2 separate regions of the Homo sapiens genome follow, and region 2 is linked to region 1. Evidence: promoter capture Hi-C in human tissues and cell types (Jung and others, 2019). All regions are on one chromosome and are shown on one strand. The core of a region is centred on a gene start or on the middle of the fragment in contact, and the rest is flanking DNA. Distances in the headings are between cores, read along the strand shown.

Region 1 (5,485 bases), core at 1,559-4,058:
TGCTTGAGCCCAGGAGGTCAAGGGTGCAGTGAGCTGTGATTGTGCCACTGCACTCCATCCTGGGTGACAGAGCCAGACCCTGTCTAAAACAAAACAAAAAAACAATAAAACACATAAGCTACCAAATTCTGTAAAGAAGGAAGTACCACCTGCATTCTTGGATTAATGAAGAAACAAACAGCTGCCAGTGATATAGGCTCATCCGATGAGTATACCCAAGCAGAGGAAAAAATGGCCTCCACCTTCAACCCCAGAAATGGGCAAACACAAGTGTCCATGCTGCTTGCACCCTCAGAGAAAGCCCTGGAGATGGTGATGTCAACCACAAGCTAGAGTGGGACAGTCTCTGCCTTATTCAGTTCCATTCAGTGTTAGAACAAGTCATACTAGCAGAGGCTGTTCTATCTGCCTTTCTTCTCCTACCCTCATCACCAAATCCCAGATGATTGAGAGTTCCAGAAACGAGCCTGTCAGAAATGCAATTTTTCTTTTTCTTTTTTTTTTTTTTTGAGACAATGTCTTGCTCTGTCACCCAGGGTGGAGTACAGAGGCGCCATCTCAGCTCACTGCAACCTCCACCTCCTCGGTTCAAGTGATTCTCCTGCCTCAGCCTCCTGAGTAGCTGAGACTACAGCTGTGCACCACCATGCCTGGCTAATTTTTTTTTTTTTTGTATTTTTAATAGAGACGGGGGACCGAGCGCAGTGGCTAACGCCTGTAATCCCAACACTTTGGGAGGCTGAGGTGGGTGGATCACGAGGTCAGGAGATCGAGACCATCCTGGCTAACACAGTGAAACCCTGTCTCTACTAAAAATACAAAAAATTAGCTGGGCATGGGGATGGGCCCCTGTAGTCCCAGCTACTCAGGAGGCTGAGGCAGGAGAATGGCGTGAACCCGGAAAGTGGAGCTTGCAGTGAGCAGAGATGGTGCCACTGCACTCCAGCCTGAGTGACAGAGCGAGACTTCATCTCAAAACAAAAACAAAAACAAAAAAACAGAGATGGGGTTTCACCGTGTTGGCCAGGCTGGTCTCCAACTCCTGACCTCAGACGATCCGCCCACCTCTGCCTCCCAAAGTGCTGGGATTGCAGGCGTAAGCCACCTCACCCCAGCCGCAAATGCAATTTCTGCAACAACCTTTATATCAACTTTTTTTCCTCTAACAATGAACAATGAAAACAATTTGTGCTCCATCTTTAAAAATGTGTGACACAAAAATTTTTTAAATAAAAATAAATATGTGATAAACATTCCTGAATGCCTAGTGTGTGCCCTGGCGCTGTGCTCTGCATTTAATTTGGATCAGCAGTTCTCAGCCTTGTTTGTACATTACAACCAACTGGAGAGGTTTTTAAACTCCCAGTATCCGGGGCATCAGTATTCGTCTAGGGCACAGTGATTCTAACACACAGTCAAGGTTGAGAACCACTTATTTAATTCATCCTGTAAATCCTCACAATAGAATCCTGCAAGGTAGCTTTTATCACCACCTTTGCCGATGAAATTGAGGCTCAAAGAGGTAAATTGATTTCGGCATCTGTAGCCCCAACCTGTGACCTCTCCTTCCTTCCTTCTCGGGCTCCCTTCAGGGATTTCCTGATGTTACAGAAAATGGTATGTATGACGCTGCCCTCCTGGCCACCTTGACATAGCTCTGCTCCCAACAGGGCTCTTCTGAGATAGCAGCCAGACACTACCTGGGATCAGGACTGATACTAAATGACTTCTGCCAAAATGAGGACAACTGAGGCCAGTCACTTCCAAACAGGTTCTGTCACCCTGAGTCAGAATAATGGCAGCTACCTCTCCTCCTCACCGCCCAGTCGTTTCTAAGCCTGGCTCGTCGCCGTTGCTGCTCCGCCAAGCCTTTCCTCGGTGCCCTCTCTCTTTTAGAACAAATTACTTCATCTCCAGGCCCTTCTCAGGGCAGCTTCTTTGCAGGGGCCATAGGGCGTCGGAAAGGTCTTTGGTCCAGGAAAGCCGCGAGCCACAGATCCAAGAGGAAAAAGCCGTTCCCGGCCCGGGCCTTGCCCAAGGCACGAGAGTAAATGCACCTTCCGCGTGCCTCGGCGCACCTGGGCTCACCTGTCCCCTCCCGCAGTGCCTGCAGACAGGGAGGGAGCGCGGCTGGGCCAGAAGGCTGATCACCGCCTGCCCCCTGCTGGCCAGTGTCAGTATTGAGCCCGCTGCCGCTCGACCAGAACGTCCCAGGGATGGAATGAAGGTGCGGGCATTTATGGAGCGCCTGCTGTTTGTCAGGCGAGGTACTGATAAGCGCTGGAGTGTAAGGATGTACGTGACCTGCTCTCAGAGTTCAAATTTAAATGAAGAGATATACATTAATCAAGTAGTCATTCAAGCAAATATGAAATTACAACTGTGGGCTATGCGAACAGATGACGCGAGGGGCCTGTCCAGTCTGGGAGATACGGGTGGGTTCAGGAAAAGCTGCCCCCAGGAGGGGACGTTTGAGCGCCAGGAGCCGCGCAAAGTCATTTCATGTCATCTCTAAAATCCTGCAAGGCGGCTTTCCCCCTTGACAAAACAGGAAATGGGATCAAATTGAGGAAGGAATTCACCCAAGATCACACAGCAAGCTGGAAGCAAATCTGGGAGGAGCTAGGTCCGCCCCGTTCCGAAATCCACACTTTTCTGGAGGTGGGGCAGGCGGTGGCACAGGGACTTGGGGCGGGGTCTGGTGGGCGGGGCATGAAGTCTGGCCCCGCCCCCGCCTCCGAGGCCAAAGGGCGCCCTGGGCGGGGATCGGAGCAGGGGCGGGGTCTTTCCAGGGAGTGGAGCCTGGGCAGATTGGGGCCTGTGGAGGCCGCACTAGGATCGTAGAAGGAGTGGAGCCGTGCTCTCACCCTGTCTTAGAGGACCCGGAAGCGCCAAGTGACTGAGGGCCGAAGACACTCACCTGTGGAGCCTGTGCACGTAGGTAGAGGCGGCGGCTCTGAGTCCAGGAGCTCCAGTGGGCAGCTCCCCAGGTAGGGCCCAACTCGGGGGGAGAAGAGATGACCCTCTCCCCTCCCGCCCTGCCCATCTGTCCTGCCATCCTACATTCCTTCCTTCCTGTCCGCGGGCCTGGGTCCACCCCTAGCTGTAAGATGGGGACGCAGGGGTGGAGGGACTGGCCTCATTTTGTCCCTTTTTCCCTGGCCCAGCGGCTGCAGGCCCCCTGGACACCCAGAACGTAGAGTCTGGAGAGGAGACGTCGAAACCTCCCAGGGGAGGCTGGCCCAGCTTTACCCCAGCCTGACTGTGTGACCTTGAGGAGGACAGCCACTTTCTCTGGTACCCAGTGTCCTCAGTTGCAAAACAGTGACTGGCCCTTGCCCTGCTTGCCCTGAGACTGGGCAGATCAGATGCTGTAGCTGCTGGGGGCTGGGGTGGCGCTTTCTCTCTACTGGGGCACTAGGAGTGCTTACTCTCCTGCTCCCTCTGGTCCTCGGTGGAGAGCCACACCCTTCATCCACCCAAACCTGGGAGCCCCGAGGGCTGAGAGCCTAGTCCTAGGGCAGCTTGCTCTGGCTTCCCTGTGCTAGAGTTGTAGTCTAGCCTGGAAGGCCTGTGAACATCCCCAAGGTGGGGTGTGAGGCCTACGTGGAGTGCACATGCTCGTTTTGCAAATAGTGGTGCCACCATTGTGCATGGCCTTGAGTGCCAAGTTAAGAAGTCCAAACTCCGCTGGGCGCGGTGGCTCACGCCTGTAATCCCAGCACTTTGGAGACTGAGGCGGGTGGATCATGAGGTCAGGAGATCGAGACCATCCTAACACGGTGAAACCCCGTCTCCACTAAAAATACAAAAAATTAGCCGGGTGTGGTGGCACACGCCTGTAGTCCCAGCTACTCGGGAGGCTGAGGCAGGAGAATTGCTTGAACCCAGCAGGCGGAGCTTGCAGTGAGCCAAAATCATGCCACCGCACTCCAGTCTGGGTGACAGGGCAAGACTCCATCTCAAAAAAATAAATAAATAAAAGAAGTCCAAACTCTCAACTGCTGGCAGGGGCAGTTCATCAGAGTATGACCTGCAGTGCCCACAGGACCAGCCTGCATGAGTGGGGCTGTCATGATGCTGCTGCTGATAGGTGTACATACAGGTTTTTATTGCATTCCAGGGCTTTACACAAAGTCATTAGTTACTCACACGTGCCTGATGTTATTCCCATTTTGGAGGCTGAGACTGAGGGTCAGAGAGATGAAGTCACTTGCCCATGGTCACAGCTAGCAAATGGCGGAGTGGGGATCAGCACCCAGATAATCTGGTGCCTTTTCTCCTAATGTCCTGTGGCCACCCGTGATCTGGGCATCTGGTTATAAAGTCTTAACCTAGGACAGCTGGAGAAAGGAGGGGCTGGATGAGCAGGAAATTGGGGGAGAAGATTCAGAGGGCTAGGGAGGGAGAGAGGGGTAGTGACTAGTCCTAAGGGGTATTCGGCTTCCTGGGAAGGTGTGAGGAGTGAAGTGGCTGATTTTAGACATGTTAGTTTGTGGGTGGAGGGTGATAGAGGGGAGCCAAGCAGAGCTCTCCTCTGTCTGGAAAAGAACAAGGAGGTAGAGCTGGGTCCTGGGAAAAGGGGGTGCCTAAGGGATAGGTGAAGACAGAGGCGGGCTCACAGAAGGCCCCCAAAATGCTGAGCAGGCAGATGTGGGGGGGCTCACTGGAAGCCCCCAAAATGCTGAGCAGGCAGATGTGGGGGGCTCACAGAAGGCCCCCAAAATGCCGAGCAGGCAGATGTGGGGGACATCCATTGGTGAAGTGGGGGGAACAGAGAGAGGAGAGAATTCTGGACTCCCGTGACATTAGATCTGAGGGAGATGGGTCTAAAAAACTGAGGCCTTGGTTCACAGAAGGGGAAACTGAGGCCAGCCAGTTACTTGCCTGAGAATACTCCAGGGCTGGATCCGAGTAGGACCCCGGGTGCCATCTCTGCTATTCGGCCCTTTCTACTAGATCGTGGTTCTCAGCTGGGGGCAATTTTGTCCCCCAGGAGACATTTAAAAATGTCTGAAGACAATTTGGCTGTCACAACCTGGAGCTGCGGGGGATGAAGTGCTACTGGCATCTAATGGGCAGAGACCAGGGATGCTGCTGAATATCCTACAGTGCACCCACCCACCCCCCAGCAAAGAATTATCTGGCCCCAAAGGACAGTAATGCTGAAGCTGAGAAACTGCACTAGGGCTTAATAGGGCAGAAAGCTCAGGCTTGGGCCTCCAGCTGGATGGACCTTTGCCCCAACCCCGGCTCTGCCCCTCCCCATGCTTGCTCCTTAATTCCTGGAAGCCTCTGGAGTCCTCTCTGCTTTTCCTGGGCACAGTGGTTTAGAGGTCTGCCCACCAAGTGTCTGTCACCACTCTGTCTCCCCAGACCTGTATTCAGAGTTTGGCATTAGGTAGGGAGAAACCAAAGTGGAAATGTCCCATCTAGCACATGGCAGGTGCCTTGCAGATAAACTTGATTTGAGTGACATCTTAGG
Region 2 (5,485 bases), core at 2,007-4,506, 130 kb before region 1:
GTAAAGACCATCAATGCTAGAAAGAAACTGCATCAACTAACGAGCAAAATAACCAGCTAACATCATAATGACAGGATCAAATTCACACATAACAATATTAACCTTAAATGTAAATGGGCTAAATGCACCAAGCAGACCTAACTGACATCTACAGAACTCTCCACCCCAAATGAACAGAATATACATTTGTCTCAGCACCACAGCACACTTACTCCAAAATTGACCACATAGTTGGAAGTAAAGCACTCCTCAGCAAATGTAAAAGAACAGAAATTATAATAAACTGTCTCTCAGACCACAGTGCAATCAAACTAGAACTCAGGATTAAGAAACTCACTCAAAACCGCTCAACTACATGGAAACTGAACATCCTGCTCCTGAATGACTACTGGGTACATAACGAAATGAAGGCACAAAGAAAGATGTTCTTTGAAACCAATGAGAACAAAGACACAACATACCAGAATCTCTGGGACACATTTAAAGCAGTGTGTAGAGGGAAATTTATAGCACTAAATGCCCACAAGAGAAAGCAGGAAATATCTAAAATTGACACCCTAACATCACAATTAAAAGAACTAGAGAAGCAAGAACAAACACATTCAAAAGCTAGCAGAAGGCAAGAAATAACTAAGATCAGAGCAGAACTGAAGGAGATAGAGACACAAAAAACCCTTCAAAAAATCAATGAATCCAGGAGCTGGTTTTTTGAAAACATCAAAATTGATAGACAGCTAGCAAGACTAATAAAGAAGAAAAGAGAGAAGAATCAAATAGACACAATAACAAACAATAAAGGGGATATCACCACCGATCCCATAGAAATACAAACTACCATTAGAGAATACTATAAATACCTCTACGCAAATAAACTAGAAAATCTAGAAGAAATGGATAAATTCCTGGACACATACACCCTCCCAAGACTAAACCAGGAAGAAGTTGAATCCCTGAATACACCAATAACAGGTTCTGAAATTAAGGCAATAATCAATAGCCTACCAACCAAAAGAAGTCCAGGACCAGACAGATCCACAGCTGAATCTACCACAGGTACAAAGAGGAGCTGGTACTATTCCTTCTGAAACTATTCCAATCCACAGAAAAAGAGGGAATCCTCCCTAATTCATTTTATGAGGCCAACATCGTCCTGATACCAAAGCCTGGCAGAGACACAACAAAAAAAGAGAATTTTAGACCAATATCCCTGATGAACATCGATGCAAAAATCCTCAATAAAATACTGGCAAATCGAATCCAGCAGCACATCAAAAAGCTTATCTACCACGACCAAGTTGGCTTCATACCTGGGATGCAAGGCTGGTTCAACATATGCAAATCAATAAATGTAATCCATCATATAAACAGAACCAAAGACAAAAACCACATGATTATCTCAATAGATGCAGAAAAGGCCTTTGACAAAATTCAACAGCCCTTCATGCTAAAAACTCTCAATAAATTAGGTATTGATGGGACGTATCTCAAAATAATAAGAGCTATTTATGACAAACCCACAGCCAATATCATACTGAATGGGCAAAAACTGGAAGCATTCCCTTTGAAAACTGGCACAAGACAGGGATGCCCTCTCTCACCACTCCTATTAACATAGTGTTGGAAGTTCTGGCCAGGGCAATCAGGCAGGAGAAAGAAATAAAGGTTATTCGATTAGGAAAAGAGCAAGTCAAATTGTCCCTGTTTGCAGATGACATGATTGTATATTTAGAAAACCCCATCGTCTCAGCCTAAAATCTCCTTAAGCTGATAAGCAACTTCAGCAAAGTCTCAGGATACAAAATCAATGTGCAAAAATCACAAGCATTCCAATACACCAATAACAGACAAACAGAGAGCCAAATCATGAGTGAACTCCCATTCACGATTGCTTCAAAGAGAATAAAATACCTAGGAATCCAACTTACAAGGGATGTGAAGGACCTCTTCAAGGAGAACTACAAACCAGTGCTCAACGAAATAAGAGGACACAAACAAATGGAAGAACATTCCATGCTCATGGATAGGAAGAATCAATATTGTGAAAATGGCCATACTGCCCAAGGTAATTTATAGATTCAATGCCATCCCCATCAAGCTACCAATGACTTTCTTCACAGAATTGGAAAAAACTACTTTAAAGGTCATATGGAACAAAAAAAGAGCCCACATTGCCAAGACTATCCTAAGTCAAAAGAACAAACTTGGAGGCATCATGCTACTTGACTTCAAACTATACTATACTACAAGGCTACAGTAACCAAAACAGCATGGTACTGGTACCAAAACAGAGATGTAGACCAATGGAACAGAACAGAGCCCTCGGAAATAATACCACACATCTACAACCATGTGATCTTTGACAAACTTGACAAAAACAAGAAATGGGGAAAGGATTCCCTATTTAATAAATGGTGCTGGGAAAACTGGCTAGCCATATGCAGAAAGCTGAAACTGGATCCCTTCCTTACACCTTATACAAAAATTAATTCGAGATGGATTAAAGACTTAAATGTTAGACCTAAAACCATAAAAACCCTAGGAGAAAACCTAGGCAATACCATTCAGGACATAGGCATGGGCAAGGACTTCATGTCTAAAACACCAAAAGCAATGGCAACAAAAGACAAAATTGACAAATGGGATCTAATTAAACTAAAGAGCTTCTGCAAAGCGAAAGAAACCACCATCAGAGTGAACAGGCAACCTACAGAATGGGAGAAAATTTTTGCAATCTACCCATCTGACAAAGGGCTAATATCCAGAATCTACAAAGCACTTAAACAAATTTACAAGAAAAACATCAAAGAACCCCATCAACAAGTGCACAAAGGATATGAACAGACACTTCTCAAAAGAAGACATTTATGCAGCCAAAAGACACATGAAAAAATGCTCATCATCACTGGCCATCAGAGAAATGCAAATCAAAATCACAATGAGATACCATCTCACACCAGTTAGAATGGCGACCATTAAAATGTCAGGAAACAACAGGTGCTGGAGAGGATGTGGAGAAATAGGAACACTTTTACACTGTTGGTGGGACTGTAAACTAGTTCAACCATTGTGGAAGACAGTGTGGCCATTCGTCAAGGATCTAGAACTAGAAATACCATTTGACCCAGCCATCCCATTACTGGGCATATACCCAAAGGATTATAAATCATGCTGCTATAAAGACACATGCACACGTATGTTTATTGCGGCACTATTCACAATAGCAAAGACTTGGAACCAACCCAAATGTCCATCAATGATAGACTGGATTAAGAAAATGTGGCACATATACACCATGGAATACTATGCAGCCATAAAAAATGATGAGTTCATGTCCTTTGTAGGGACATGGATGAAGCTAGAAACCATCATTCTGAGCAAACTATCACAAGGACAGAAAACCAAACACCACATGTTCTCACTCATAGGTGGGAACTGAACAATGAGAATACTTGGACACAGGGTGGGGAACATCACACACCACGGCCTGTCGTGGGGTGGGGAGAGGGACAGCATTAGGAGATATACCTAATGTAAATGACAAGTTAACGAGTGCAGCACACCAACATGGCACATGTATACCTATGTAACAAACCTGCATGTTGTGCACATGTACCCTAAAACTTAAAGTATAATTTAAAAAAGAATTATAAGTAATCTTCACATATGCTTTTAAGTATTTTTTTAAAAGAAAGGAAAGAAGAAAGAAGAGGAAACCAGAAACAAATAATCATTACACTATCCAGACATTACATAACATCCCTTACCTGTGAATTTAGATGTATTGAACTTTTAATAAAATAGATTGACTTCACACTTTTAAAATGCTAAGAAAGAAAACAGCTAAGGCAGAAAACTAACCTGAAAACAAAACCAATGGTTTTATATATAAAAGACCGAAATTAAACAGTTGATAACTCAAAAAGAAATAATAATAATAATTGTTTCACAGGATGCCATGAGAAAAGGGATTCTGTGAGCCCTATTACTAATATAGAATGATAATCATCATTATTACTTTTCGTTTTAGCAAATCATAATGCTCTAATGACTAAAACAATAGTAATTCTAATACTAAAATCAAGTTATCAGTATTTGGATTTGATACAAAGATGTAAAGAAAATTAAAATATCTCTATTCAAATTCTCAGTAAATAAACACGGCTATTTTATGATGAAAATAATTTTTAAAACTTTGAAGGTGAGGGTAAACATAAACCCACTCTAACAACTTCTCACCCCTTCCCCCACCAATTTGAACTGGCATGCACACTTTTTTACTTAATTTTTAATTATAAAGATAAAATGTAATTTAAATAAATTTAATGTCTATAATTTGGTATACCTTCTCATTTAGTCCAGATATTTTATTCATATTTTTATCACAATGAGCACACATTTGTGCTTTTTTCACCAAACATTACGTTATAAACCTTTTTGTTACACAAGCTTCATAAGTTTAACATTTAATAGCTACCTAATAATGTACCACAATGAATTTGACTTATCCACCCCTGCTGTTGAAAAGCATGCCAATCTCATGGGTGACAGTGAAACAAACATCTCTGGGCATACAGGATGTTTTTCTTCTATCAAATTATTTCCTGAGGTTAAGTGCACAGGAATGGGCTTACCATCTCAAAGAGCATCAACATTTCTAAGCTCCTTTGTATATATCATTGGCAAACATTTTAAATCAAGTGCTTTATGATCCCAAATCAGGGAAACTAAAAATAATACAGTTATGGACCCAGTGAGCAAATCAGATTTTCAGACAAGTTATGGAAGACATCAAGTAGAATATCTGAAAGCACAAACGACAAAAGAAAAAACAGATAAATTGGATGTCATCAAAATTAAAAACTTGCATTCTTCAAAGGTCACCATCAAGAAAGTGAAAAGATAGACAATCCACAGAAAGAAAAGGTTTGCAAATCATCTATCTGGTAAAGTATATCCAGATTATATAAATAACTTACAACTCAACCATAGAAAGATAATTTTTAAACGGGTAAAGGATTTGAATAGACACTTCTCCAAAGAAGATATACAAATGGCCAGTAAAGCACATAAAAAACTGCTCAACATCATTAGTTATTAGGAAAACACAAATCAAAACCACAATGAGATACCACTTCACACCCACCAAGATGGCTGTAATTACAGCGACAGATAACAAGTATAGATGAGGATGCAGAGAAACTGGAGCCCTCACGTATTGCTGATGAAAATGTAAAATGGTATAGCCACTTTGGAAAACTGTTTGGCAAACAAAATGTTAAATATAGAGTTGCCATAAGATCCAGCAATTTGGCCGGGCGCAGTGGCTCACACCTGTAATCCTAGCACTTTGGGAGGCCAAGGCGGGCGGATCACCAGAGGTCAGGAGTTCAAGATCAGCCTGACCAACATGGAGAAACCCCATCTCTACTAAAAATGCTAAATTAGCCAGGCATGTTGGTGCATGACTGTAATCCCAGCTACTCAG

Evidence for each region. The method cuts DNA at HindIII sites, captures the fragments that hold promoters and counts their contacts. A contact is called where the count stands out against the background at its distance.
Region 2: a fragment that was not itself captured here is called in contact with the fragment with the promoter of LPIN3 in region 1 in 2 of the 25 tissues and cell types used here (dorsolateral prefrontal cortex and hippocampus).

The regions. Positions count from the first base shown.
Region 1 is chr20:41,338,013-41,343,497 of GRCh38, forward strand. It overlaps LPIN3 (lipin 3), which reads left to right and starts at 2,809. Exons shown (of 20, transcript NM_022896.3): 1 at 2,809-2,990. RefSeq lists an enhancer at 2,421-2,470 and a silencer at 2,631-2,790. The HindIII fragment of the contact is 17,326 bases long and covers 1-5,485 here.
Region 2 is chr20:41,207,207-41,212,691 of GRCh38, forward strand. All of the region lies in intron 2 of ZHX3 (zinc fingers and homeoboxes 3), which reads right to left. Among named protein-coding and RNA genes, the nearest start is that of MIR6871, 41 kb to the left of the region's middle. The HindIII fragment of the contact is 5,390 bases long and covers 562-5,485 here.